Regions from separate parts of the Homo sapiens genome. Here all the other regions are linked to region 1. Evidence: promoter capture Hi-C in 16 types of primary human blood cells and fetal thymus (Javierre and others, 2016). All regions are on one chromosome and are shown on one strand. The core of a region is centred on a gene start or on the middle of the fragment in contact, and the rest is flanking DNA. Distances in the headings are between cores, read along the strand shown.

The links. The method cuts DNA at HindIII sites, captures the fragments that hold promoters and counts their contacts. A CHiCAGO score of 5 or more calls a contact.
Region 2: a fragment that was not itself captured here is called in contact with the fragment with the promoter of TRIM41 in region 1 in 12 of 17 cell types (megakaryocytes, total B cells, activated CD4 T cells and 9 more); the score reaches 11.1 in megakaryocytes.
Region 3: a contact is called between a fragment that was not itself captured here and the fragment with the promoter of TRIM41 in region 1, in 5 of 17 cell types (total B cells, naive B cells, total CD4 T cells and 2 more). The highest score is 9.7, in total B cells.

Annotation. Positions count from the first base shown.
Region 1 is chr5:181,221,419-181,224,876 of GRCh38, forward strand. It overlaps TRIM41 (tripartite motif containing 41), which reads left to right and starts at 1,863. Exons shown (of 6, transcript NM_033549.5): 1 at 1,863-3,394. The coding sequence starts at 2,582. It overlaps TRK-CTT2-3 (tRNA-Lys (anticodon CTT) 2-3), which reads right to left and starts at 633; the gene lies at 561-633. It overlaps TRV-CAC1-5 (tRNA-Val (anticodon CAC) 1-5), which reads right to left and starts at 1,049; the gene lies at 977-1,049. It overlaps MIR4638 (microRNA 4638), which reads right to left and starts at 1,215; the gene lies at 1,148-1,215. RefSeq lists silencers at 442-651, 902-1,131, 2,402-2,611 and enhancers at 1,862-2,091, 2,759-3,458. The HindIII fragment of the contact is 16,690 bases long and covers 1-3,458 here.
Region 2 is chr5:180,801,147-180,804,604 of GRCh38, forward strand. It overlaps MGAT1 (alpha-1,3-mannosyl-glycoprotein 2-beta-N-acetylglucosaminyltransferase), which reads right to left and starts at 1,660. Exons shown (of 2, transcript NM_002406.4): 1 at 1,534-1,660. RefSeq lists enhancers at 972-1,679, 1,680-2,386, 2,530-2,639, 3,094-3,458 and silencers at 1,490-1,849, 2,020-2,099, 2,110-2,159. The HindIII fragment of the contact is 1,346 bases long and covers 960-2,305 here.
Region 3 is chr5:180,825,207-180,828,664 of GRCh38, forward strand. It overlaps a transcript of ZFP62 not described here. Among named protein-coding and RNA genes, the nearest start is that of LINC00847, 4.0 kb to the right of the region's middle. The HindIII fragment of the contact is 263 bases long and covers 1,707-1,969 here.

The sequences.
Region 1 (3,458 bases), core at 613-3,112:
GTGTCTCATATGACACAAAGCATCTTTCTTGACAGGGAGTCGAAAGCAGGTCGTAGCGAGACAAAGGCGGAAGCCTAACCACTAAATCTCCCAGTAAAGTGGGAGTGAATCAGATAGGTTTTGACGCTCACGAACGCCTGGGGTCGTCCTGCGGTCTCACCCCAGTTTCGATAAACCACATTGTTCCCTCCAGCACAGCAAGTCTCACAGCAAGACGGGGGCAGGCCGTCTGGTAAACATAAAATGCCTAATATGTGCTGCCCGTGGGCGAGTGGCCTACAGCAAAGGGTCATGCATGCACGATAGCCCGCGGTGCTGGCCTGCAGGAATTGGTCCACAGGTACCCGCCTCTCATTCTTTCTTTGAGAGTTAGCGAGGGTGCAAACGTTGTGAGAATTCTGCTCGGGGCCTTCCACACACGGATCGGAGAACACCAGGTTAGTCCAAGTTCTAACACCCACTGTTGGTGAATCTGCTACCCACTAGGTCTTGGTACAGAGAATACCATTTGTGCACTTAGGTAACACAACTTGCCTTAACCTTTCCAAAAAGCGAAATTACGCCCAACGTGGGGCTCGAACCCACGACCCTGAGATTAAGAGTCTCATGCTCTACCGACTGAGCTAGCCGGGCGGCCATGTCTGTATTCTAACTTTGTCTCTGAAGATGGAGGTTACCCTCAGAGGTGTAAGCACGTTTCCACTGTGCAAATACTAAGAAGCGCCTGCGCCTGGCTCTGTTCTAGGCACTAGAGCCGAGGATCTGAAATCTACGGATTCCTGTACATGTGATGGCTGCATAGGCTTCAGAAGGGAAGAGCAAGAGATTAGGTGAGGGGCGAGACCTGAATTTACTTGAGTAGTGCTCTCCTTCAGTTTTGCCCCAGTCCGTGTTCCTCCGAAGCGCAGGGACACACATGTCCTTCCTGCCACGTAAGGCCGGCCTCGGGAGAGAATCTCCCGAACAGACCAAAACGTGTTTCCGCCCGGTTTCGAACCGGGGACCTTTCGCGTGTGAGGCGAACGTGATAACCACTACACTACGGAAACCACCTTGGCTACTTTCCTGCCGGCATCGTCCTGAAGACACACACGGCTGAGACGGCCGGGATAGCTCTAGGCAAGCGCCCTTGTAGGACAGGCCCGGGGACCCCTGCCGCGGCCGGCTGAGCGGTGTCCAGGTTCTGGAGCCGGACTTGTCCACCGCAGCCGAGTCCGCAGGTCCTGTAATGGCCTAGCATAGTTCACCCACGAGGGTTCGTGGTTTTTGGCGCGTTTGATCTGACATACTCAGAGGCCTGACCACCCCCCTAGGAAGCGCGACGTCCATCTGGAGTTTTCCCGCGAGCCGCCTTGAGAGCAGGGTAAGTTCTGCAGGCCCAGCCCTGGCGTCACGCTGTGTCTGGCACTCACTGGAGATTCTGTACATAAATCATGGCCCCGTCATTTTTCTCGCATCAAACAACATTTATTTATTTATGTATCGACATCAAATCTCTATAAAAATAAAATTTAAAGAGCTATTTAAGCATCAAGTATTATTTCTACCGCACAAAGCATCTATTTTTGCAGAGATGCTGTGAGAATGTAGATGTAATGATTCGTCACCACTTCTTCACTGCTGGGCAGTTAGGGAAGTTCATCTAAACCATGAGACAGTGTCCGGTTGGCAGTTTCTACCTCGGATGCGAAACGCCGACTACAGTTGGGGAAGGGTGGGGCGTCTGCTGCCCTAACCCGCGAAGCGCTTTCTCAGGCCCCGCCCCCGGTCCGACCCGGACGACCCTCTGAGTCCTCCACAACGAAGTCGTCTGCCTAGAAGGGCCGGAAGTACTTCAGGGCGCGCCGCGGACCCACCCCCTCGCTTCCGGCATCGGCTGTGGGGAGTACCGGCTGCAGTCGGCTGTGCCGGGAGGGTAGGATGGCGTCTGGCCGATGCGGTGATAGCACCGAAAGCAGACGGCCGCCAGGCGCTCCCCCTACCCCCCGAAGTTTCTCCCCAGCGGCGGGGGATGGGGGTAGGCGGTTCCTCTGTTCTTTCTGCGTTCCCCGCGGCCTCTTACCACAGAGACGCGGGCCTCCACCGTCCTAGCCCTCCCGCCCTGTTCTCTAGTGCGGACTAGAGCGTCTCCTCGCCATTTCCTGTCGCCCTGGGGCCCCGCGGGGAAAAAGGGGGAGTAGCAGGACAGCGGAGGGAAGTCGCGAGCTTAGGTGGTGTGTAGACGCCGGAAGTGTTGGGAAGGAGGCCGGAAGCTAGGGGCGGGGCCAGGAAGTGAGGAGGGGCGGGGGTTTATGAGGAGTCCAAGGGAGCATTGGGGCAGACTTGTACTCAGAGCCACCTGAGGGACTTGGCGGTGGCGCCCAGCACTGTCCCCTCCCCTCGTAGAGACACGGTTGTCGTTTGGGAGTAGGGAACACTGTGTTGGGGTGGGTTGTCGGCAGGACATCTCTCTGGCTGCTCTTGGGGCGAGGTGTGGAGGGGCAGGGCTGGGGGTGGAGCCGGGTCGCCAGGGCGTCGGTAGGGAAGACCCCCGCCCCTCGCCCCCCCACCGAACCTCTACACTGGCTGGCTGGACACTAAGATGGCTGCCGTTGCCATGACACCCAACCCTGTGCAGACCCTTCAGGAGGAGGCGGTGTGCGCCATCTGCCTCGATTACTTCACGGACCCCGTGTCCATCGGCTGCGGGCACAACTTCTGCCGAGTTTGTGTAACCCAGTTGTGGGGTGGGGAGGATGAGGAGGACAGAGATGAGTTAGATCGGGAGGAGGAGGAGGAGGACGGAGAGGAGGAGGAAGTGGAGGCTGTGGGGGCTGGCGCGGGGTGGGACACCCCCATGCGGGATGAAGACTACGAGGGTGACATGGAGGAGGAGGTCGAGGAGGAAGAAGAGGGTGTGTTCTGGACCAGTGGCATGAGCAGGTCCAGCTGGGACAACATGGACTATGTGTGGGAGGAGGAGGACGAGGAGGAAGACCTGGACTACTACTTGGGGGACATGGAGGAGGAGGACCTGAGGGGGGAGGATGAGGAGGACGAGGAGGAAGTGCTGGAGGAGGTTGAGGAAGAGGATCTAGACCCCGTCACCCCACTGCCCCCGCCTCCAGCCCCTCGGAGGTGCTTCACATGCCCTCAGTGCCGAAAGAGCTTTCCTCGGCGGAGCTTCCGCCCCAACCTGCAGCTGGCCAATATGGTCCAGGTGATTCGGCAGATGCACCCAACCCCTGGTCGAGGGAGCCGCGTGACCGATCAGGGCATCTGTCCCAAACACCAAGAAGCCCTGAAGCTCTTCTGCGAGGTAGACGAAGAGGCCATCTGTGTGGTGTGCCGAGAATCCAGGAGCCACAAACAGCACAGCGTGGTGCCATTGGAGGAGGTGGTGCAGGAGTACAAGGTGAGAGAAGTACAGAGAGAAGATGGGAGTTTAGTGGGGGGATGGAGAGGAAGTAAGGGGACCT
Region 2 (3,458 bases), core at 383-2,882, 420 kb before region 1:
ATCCTTTCTAACACTCTGATACCATGGTGTTCTCCAGCCTATTTCCTTTATCTGGCAAAAAATGTTTCTTAAATAGCAAGTGAACACCAGATAGTCAACTTCCAATCATGAGCAATAAGCGAGAAGTTATATTTAGCTGTAAAATTAAGTACAGAAGTGGAAGAAATGGTAACAGATTTTCCCTTCTATCTCTGCTTTGCTTAAAGTTAAAAAGCACTACGTAAAAATTCCAGAAAATATAGACATGTCACAGGTAATGGAACTCTAACTGAACTGCTTTCATGTTCGTTCTTAGACCTTGGCTGGACTCCTGTATCATGTACCAGGCCCATAATTTCAGGACGGAAAAAAAAGAAAGGTAGTCAGAGAAGATACACTAAATAATTCAAGAGTTGAGAGAATAAGACCTAGGAGGGAAGGGATGCAGGTTATTCATCCTGGAAAAGAAGAGCTAAATACAAGTGCCACAAAAGGCATGAGGCCTGGGATTCAGGCGATCCAGCCAGCAAGCCAGGCAACTTTGGACAAGTCACTTGACCCACTTGTACCTTAGTTCTCTCATCTATAAGGTGACAGGGTTGATTTGGTTCATCACAAGGTCCCACTGCCTGGATACTGACGACAGTGACAATTTCCCTACTGCCCCGAACAGTAATGAGTTTCCCTTGTTAACACAGGCCACTGAGGTCAGGCATACCGCAGTGCTTCTAACAGTGAGAATGAGACACAGAAGCAGGGAAATGGGTGAGCTCAATGGTCCCCAGAATTGGGAAGGACCAGGACGCAGTGATTGCTGATGGAAGGCAGATCCTGGATGATGTGAGCACGTAAGAGCAAAGGCTACACGGCCTGAAAAAATACCGTAAATGACTGAAAATAAAGCTGGGCAACATCTCAGCCAGTGATGTTCTAAAACAAAACGGCAGACCCACTACAGCAGCAAGGGTTAACCAAAGTGAAGCTTCAGCCTTCAGGGAGCCGGCCAGCCACAGTCCCTCTACTTCAGAGTTTATCAGACGCGGGCACTGCACGTCCCGGGGCTCTCTACTCCACACACGTTAGCAAACAGGAAGAAAAGTTTTCTTGCCAACTTATTATATATATATTTCAACACTGAATCAACATTTCCTTTCTGCTGAGGAGAATCAGCCTCTATTAACTTGGGGAAAGGATGCTGGAGTGAGGTTAGGGGGGAAAGGCCACTCCCCAATCCCACCCCCTCCCTGCCCCGCACGCACGGACGCCCGGGGCCGAGTTTCACAACATCCTCCCCAGTCCGCGGAGCCCGCCCTTCCTCTAACAGCTGGAGGCCCGGGATTCCGAAAGCAGAAGGCGGAGTTCCAACCTCTCGGCTCGGGAAGGGACTAACGCGCAGCTGGCACCGGGTCGGACCGGGCCGCTCCCCAGCCAAGCCCCCTCTCGCTAGCACTCATGGGCACCGGGGCTTTGGGGCGACCCGACGTCCCTTGGGCTCCCTCTCGGCGCCCGCGAGGCCTCCCCCGGTCTGACCTCCGTCCCCGGACACCTACTCACCAGGTCCTCCCGACGTCCTGGCCCCGAACTTGGCCTGCTCCGGGGCGCAGGGAGCGAGCCCGGTGCCCAGGCGCGTCCCAAGCGCTGCCGCGGCCGCCTCGCCTTTCGACTCGCCAGCCCTTTCTGCGGCGCGCCGGGGCCGGACGGCCGGGCGGGCAACGTGGCCCTTCCCCGGCAGGCGGGGCGGGGCGGGGCGGACTGAGGGGCGTGACCGACAGCCCCGCCGCGCCCCGCCCCCCGGCCGGCGTCCGCCAGGCCCCCTCCTCCTGGCCCGCCTCCTTTCCCCGCCGCTTCTCAGTCAACCCAGGACCCAAGTTTTCCCAGGACCCCAACTTCGGGAGTCGGCTTTCCGGCTCCCTGGCGCAACCCTGAGGGTGGACGCCCGACCCCACCCCTGCCCTCGGCCCTCCAGCGCAGCTGCCCAGCCTGGAGCCGCGCCTGAAGTGGGCCCGCAGTCCAGGAAAGGCGTTCACCAAACCCTAGGCCAAGGGCTGGGAGCCAGTCCCCCCACCCCAACCCAGGGGAGGCTGAGGAGCCCGGGTGGGAGCCCCAGGGTCGCGTGGGGCAGGGACAGAACAGGAACCAGGGTGCCCGACGGGGGGCCGGGGGGAAACACCTGTGCCAAAGCAAGCCGGGGCCAGCTGTGGCTTCTTCCCTTTTGTTTTTCCTTGGTGGGTGGGGAATGAGAGCTTCAGTTCTGAGTAAAGAAAGCGAAGAGAGACCTACCAGCAGGGGAGGCCCACCAGCCCTAGGCGGGAAGGACTCGGTCACAAGCTTTGGCGGAAGCACCATGGAAAAGCCTAGAACGGGTCTGCGCCCGGCTGGTGTTTTAAAGGGGAGGAAGGTGCGGACCTGAAGAGGAGGTGGAGGTGGACCCAGGCCCACCGAGGGGAGGGAGGGACAGCTCTTCCATAGCAAATACCTGTCGCTGAGCCAGGAGTAAAGTCTGGCCGGGAGGAGGACAGACGCAGAAGACCAGGGGCTCCAGCGCACAGAGCCAGTTTCGCCAGCGATCAGGTCTGAGGCCTGGATTCCACGAGGCCGGTGCAAGCCAGGAGCCAGCCCCACTCCCTCGCCCAGCTCCCTCCGGCCTGGCCCTCTGCAGAAGCCTGATGCCCACCCAGCTGTCTCACCATGGGACCCCAGGCGGTGAGGGTGGGTAGCCGAGGACTACAGGCTGCTGGGTAGCTGACTTCCCCAAGAAGGGCTGCTGCCATGTGATCAGGACCCACGCCCCTGACATCAACCCCTCCCCCGTGTTCCAGAGCACGGAGCAGCCCGGAACTCTGCGGCCTGTGGTTACTGACTGACTGCTCACTAACTTGTTTCTACATGAAACCACGAATCGTGCAGGGTTCTAGAGAAACAAAGGGCCGCGCGCACCCGCAGGCCCCTGCGTGGAGGCGAGGACCTAAATCAAAACTGCTAAGGGGTCACCAGGCATGGTGAGGGGCCTCACGGGCCAAACCCTCCCTCGGCCTGTCCTTCAAGCCTCAGCAGCTCTGCGGAGTGAGCGTTATCATCCCCATTCTACAGATAACTAGTTTGAGGCTCAGGGTAAGTGCAAACGTGCTGCAAGCCACCAGACCTGGTGGGGAGCATAGCCAGGTTTTAGACCGGGCACTCCTGTGCGCCCCCCAACACCCCCGCACACATCCTCCAGCGCCAGTGCTTTGAGAGGGCTCTGTCTCCTCTCAGGCGCTGCCGTGAAGCCTCCGCTTAAGTGGCCAGAGCCCAGACCTGGAGGTGGAGTGGGAGAAGGGCAGGCCCACCGAGGCCGCCGTGTGCAGTGTGCGATGTGCGGGAAGCCCGTGGCTTCCACTTTAGCTGACTGCGCGCACTGTGGCAGGAGCCTCGAACCCAGGCGGATATGCCAGTCAGAGGCCAGTGTCTGTCACCTCTGCCCTATGTTTGCCTAATGGAGG
Region 3 (3,458 bases), core at 588-3,087, 400 kb before region 1:
TCCCTTTATCCCCAAGATGTCTCCAGACAGAGGTGTTTCCAGCTGGCCCCAGTTCAGCTGATCTCCAGTCTGTCTGCCCATGAGAGTCCCAGGAGAGCATGCCGTCTAACTAAGCCGCCTGGGCTTTGCTCTGGACCCCTAAGGAGTCCCTACAGGTCAGGTCTTCCCTGCTCCATCCAGAGAGGGGCCCCTCTCATACTGCAGAATGCTCGAAGTCCACAAATGTTCATTCTCCCCTTCGTTACTAGTAGAACTCACTCAGTTAAGGCTGAGCTCACGGTAGGCAACCTCAAACTCTCAGTGGCTTATCAAAAAAGTCATTTATTTTTCTTGCAGGCTGGTGGAGGCCGCTCTGCTTCAAGCTGTGAGCCGAGTCAGGGCTGCTTCACTTGTCTCTCATCCTCTGGACCAGTGACCACCTGGGGTGGCAACAGGGCCAGAGGACGAGCAGAGACACAAGAGGCCTCCTAAGGCCTCAGCTCAGAACTAACAAACTCGCTTCTGCCCACATTCCATTGGCCAAAGCCCTGCATGAGTTGTGGAAAAGTACTCTCCACTTTGGTGAACATTAGTAAGAGAAAAGAGGGAAGGAAGAATTGCAGGCAAGTAATACCATCTACCTCGGCCTCCTATGCAGCTTGGTGTGTACCTGCACCTAAGTTCTGGCCTGTAGGATATGAGGGGAAGTGAGGTGTGCAACTCCAGGACCTGCCCCTGTAAAGACTGGGCCCTGCCTTTCCCCTGCCCATCTGCTGGGGACATGGTAGGACTGCAGCAGTTGCCTGGCCCAGAGATAGACGGCACAGCTATCCTGCTGGTCCTACCTCTAGACCGCCACATGTACCTCACTTACACTGCTTGGGTTTTGCATCTTAAAACCCCAATTAGCACACCATTCATTCATTCATTCCCCCATCAACAAGTATGTACTGAGTGTCTTTTTGCCAGGCATTGCACTAGGTTTTGGAGAGATGACAGTGAACAAAAACAAACTTGGCTGTTCTGTATCTTGGCTGTGGCAGTGGTTACACAAGCCTACACATGTGATAAAACTGCATAGAACTAAATACACACACACAGAGGAATGCCAGTCAAACTGGGAATTAAAGAATCAAAAAGTCACTGGTGACTCAACATGGCAGCAGTCCAGCTCAACCATACAGATGACAGCAGTGTGCTGAAGTATGACAAAGGAATGATTTAAAAGGAATTGAGGCAGAGCTGCCAGGCAGGCATGCTCACCTTGGACTTTGAAGCAAGAGAGACATAAATAAAGGTCTTTGTTCTGTAAGTAGAGTGTTCATATAATTTATCATCCAAACTGAGACACCTGTGAAAATAATTACACTGGAACAACTTGTGTGACTGATCAGCTGGTCACTCCATCTTTAAGTCATTGTCTTGTTGAGTCTGTTATCAGAGCCCATGGAGTGCCATGCATGGACAGCTTATTTAGGCACAACAGAGAAAAATTAAAGGGAAGGAGGAGCAAGGAAGAGTGGAAAGGATAAAGAAATGGTGAGCATTGGCAGGAAACAATGCAAGGAGAAAAGGGAACAGGAATCGGATTTTCTACTAATTTGCTGTGTGTTCCTGTGTCAGTTTATAAATTAGTGTCTATATTTACAACCGATTGGAAGAACGAACTTTTTAGATCCTCTCATCCAACAAAGCTGCAGATTTCTTTATTGAGATGGAGTTGAGAAAGCTTTAAAACAGGCCAAAGCAACATGAGGACATGTGTCATGAGAAGAGAAATGGTCTTCCATAAATTGAGTGCTGGGGAAGGCTTGGTGTAGGTAATGTAGAGGTTCTCAAACTGTGGAGAAGCTCAAAATGTGTTCCTTTGAGCCTTGGTCTTCTAGTTAGGCCACTGTCTAAGCCACTATACAAAAAGACACCAAACACACTGGCTTCAACAAGACAAGCCTCTGTTTCTCTTTCGGGTGACAGGAGAAGCAGAGGACTAAGCTTTCTTTTCCAAGTCATCACCTGAAAGTTGCCCCTTCACTTCTGCTCACATTGCATTGGCCAGAGACTTGAAAGGAAGCTGGGCACGTGCTGTGGGGAAAAGAAAGAGAGATCAGATTGTTACTGTGTCTGTATAGAAAGAAGTAGACGTAGGAGACTCCATTCTGTTCTGTACTAAGAAAAATTCTGCCTTGAGATTCTGTTAATCTGTGACCTTACCCCCAACCCTGTGCTCCCTGAAACGTGTGCTGTGTCAACTCAGGGTTAAATGGATTAAGGGCTGTGCAGGGTGTGCTTTGTTAAACAGATGCTTGAAGGCAGCATGCTCCTTAAGAGTCATCACCACTCCCTAATCTCAAGTACCCAGGGACACAAACACTGCGGAAGGCCGCAGGGACCTCTGCTGAGGAAAGCCAGGTATTGTCCAAGGTTTCTCCCCATGTGATAGTCTGCAATATGGCCTCATGGGAAGGGAAAGACCTGACCGTCCCCCAGCCCGACACCCGTAAAGGGTCTGTGCTGAGGAGGATTAGTATAAGAGGAAGGCATGCCTCTTGCAGTTGAGACAAGAGGAAGGCATCTGTCTCCTGCCCGTCCCTGGGCAATGGAATGTCTCGGTATAAAACCCAATTTACGTTCCATCTACTGAGATAGGGAAAAACCGCCTTAGGGCTGGAGGTGGGACATGCGGGCAGCAATACTGCTTTGTAAAGCATTGAGATGTTTATGTGTATGCATATCTAAAAGCACAGCACTTGATTCTTTACCTTGTCTATGATGCAAAGACCTTTGTTCACGTGTTTGTCTGCTGACTCTCTCCCCGCTATTGTCTTGTGACCCTGACACATCCCCCTCTCGGAGAAACACCCACAAATGATCAATAAATACTAAGGGAACTCAGAGGCTGGCGGGATCCTCCATATGCTGAACGCTGGTTCCCCGGGCCCCCTTATTTCTTTCTCTATACTTTGTCTCTGTGTCTTTTTCTTTTCCAAGTCTCTCGTTCCACCTAACGAGAAACACCCACAGGTGTGGAGGGGCAACCCACCCCTTCAACGTGCCCTGCCAAACCTCTGGTGGTAAGGCTTCGATTACTAAATGGAAGAAAGGGACACAGGGTGTTTTGGAGTTGACACCTAGCTCTTTGGAGGTGACTCAGATCACTCAGGAGAGTCCGTAAGGCCCGGTGGGCAACACCCCAATCCTCCAGTCTCTACCCAAGAAGCTCCACCTTCATCTATTTGAGGGTTCTATGTTGCGGGAAGTCAGGGACCCCGAATGGAAGGACCAGCTGGAGCTGTGGCAGAAGAACATAAATTGTGAAGATTTTATTTTAATATGGACATTTATCAGTTCCCAAATAATGCTTTTATAATTTCTTATGCCTGTCTTTACTTTAATCTCTTAATCCTGTTATCTTCATAAGCTGAGCATGTATGTCACCTCAGGATCACTATGATAATTGTGTTAACTGTACAAATTGATTA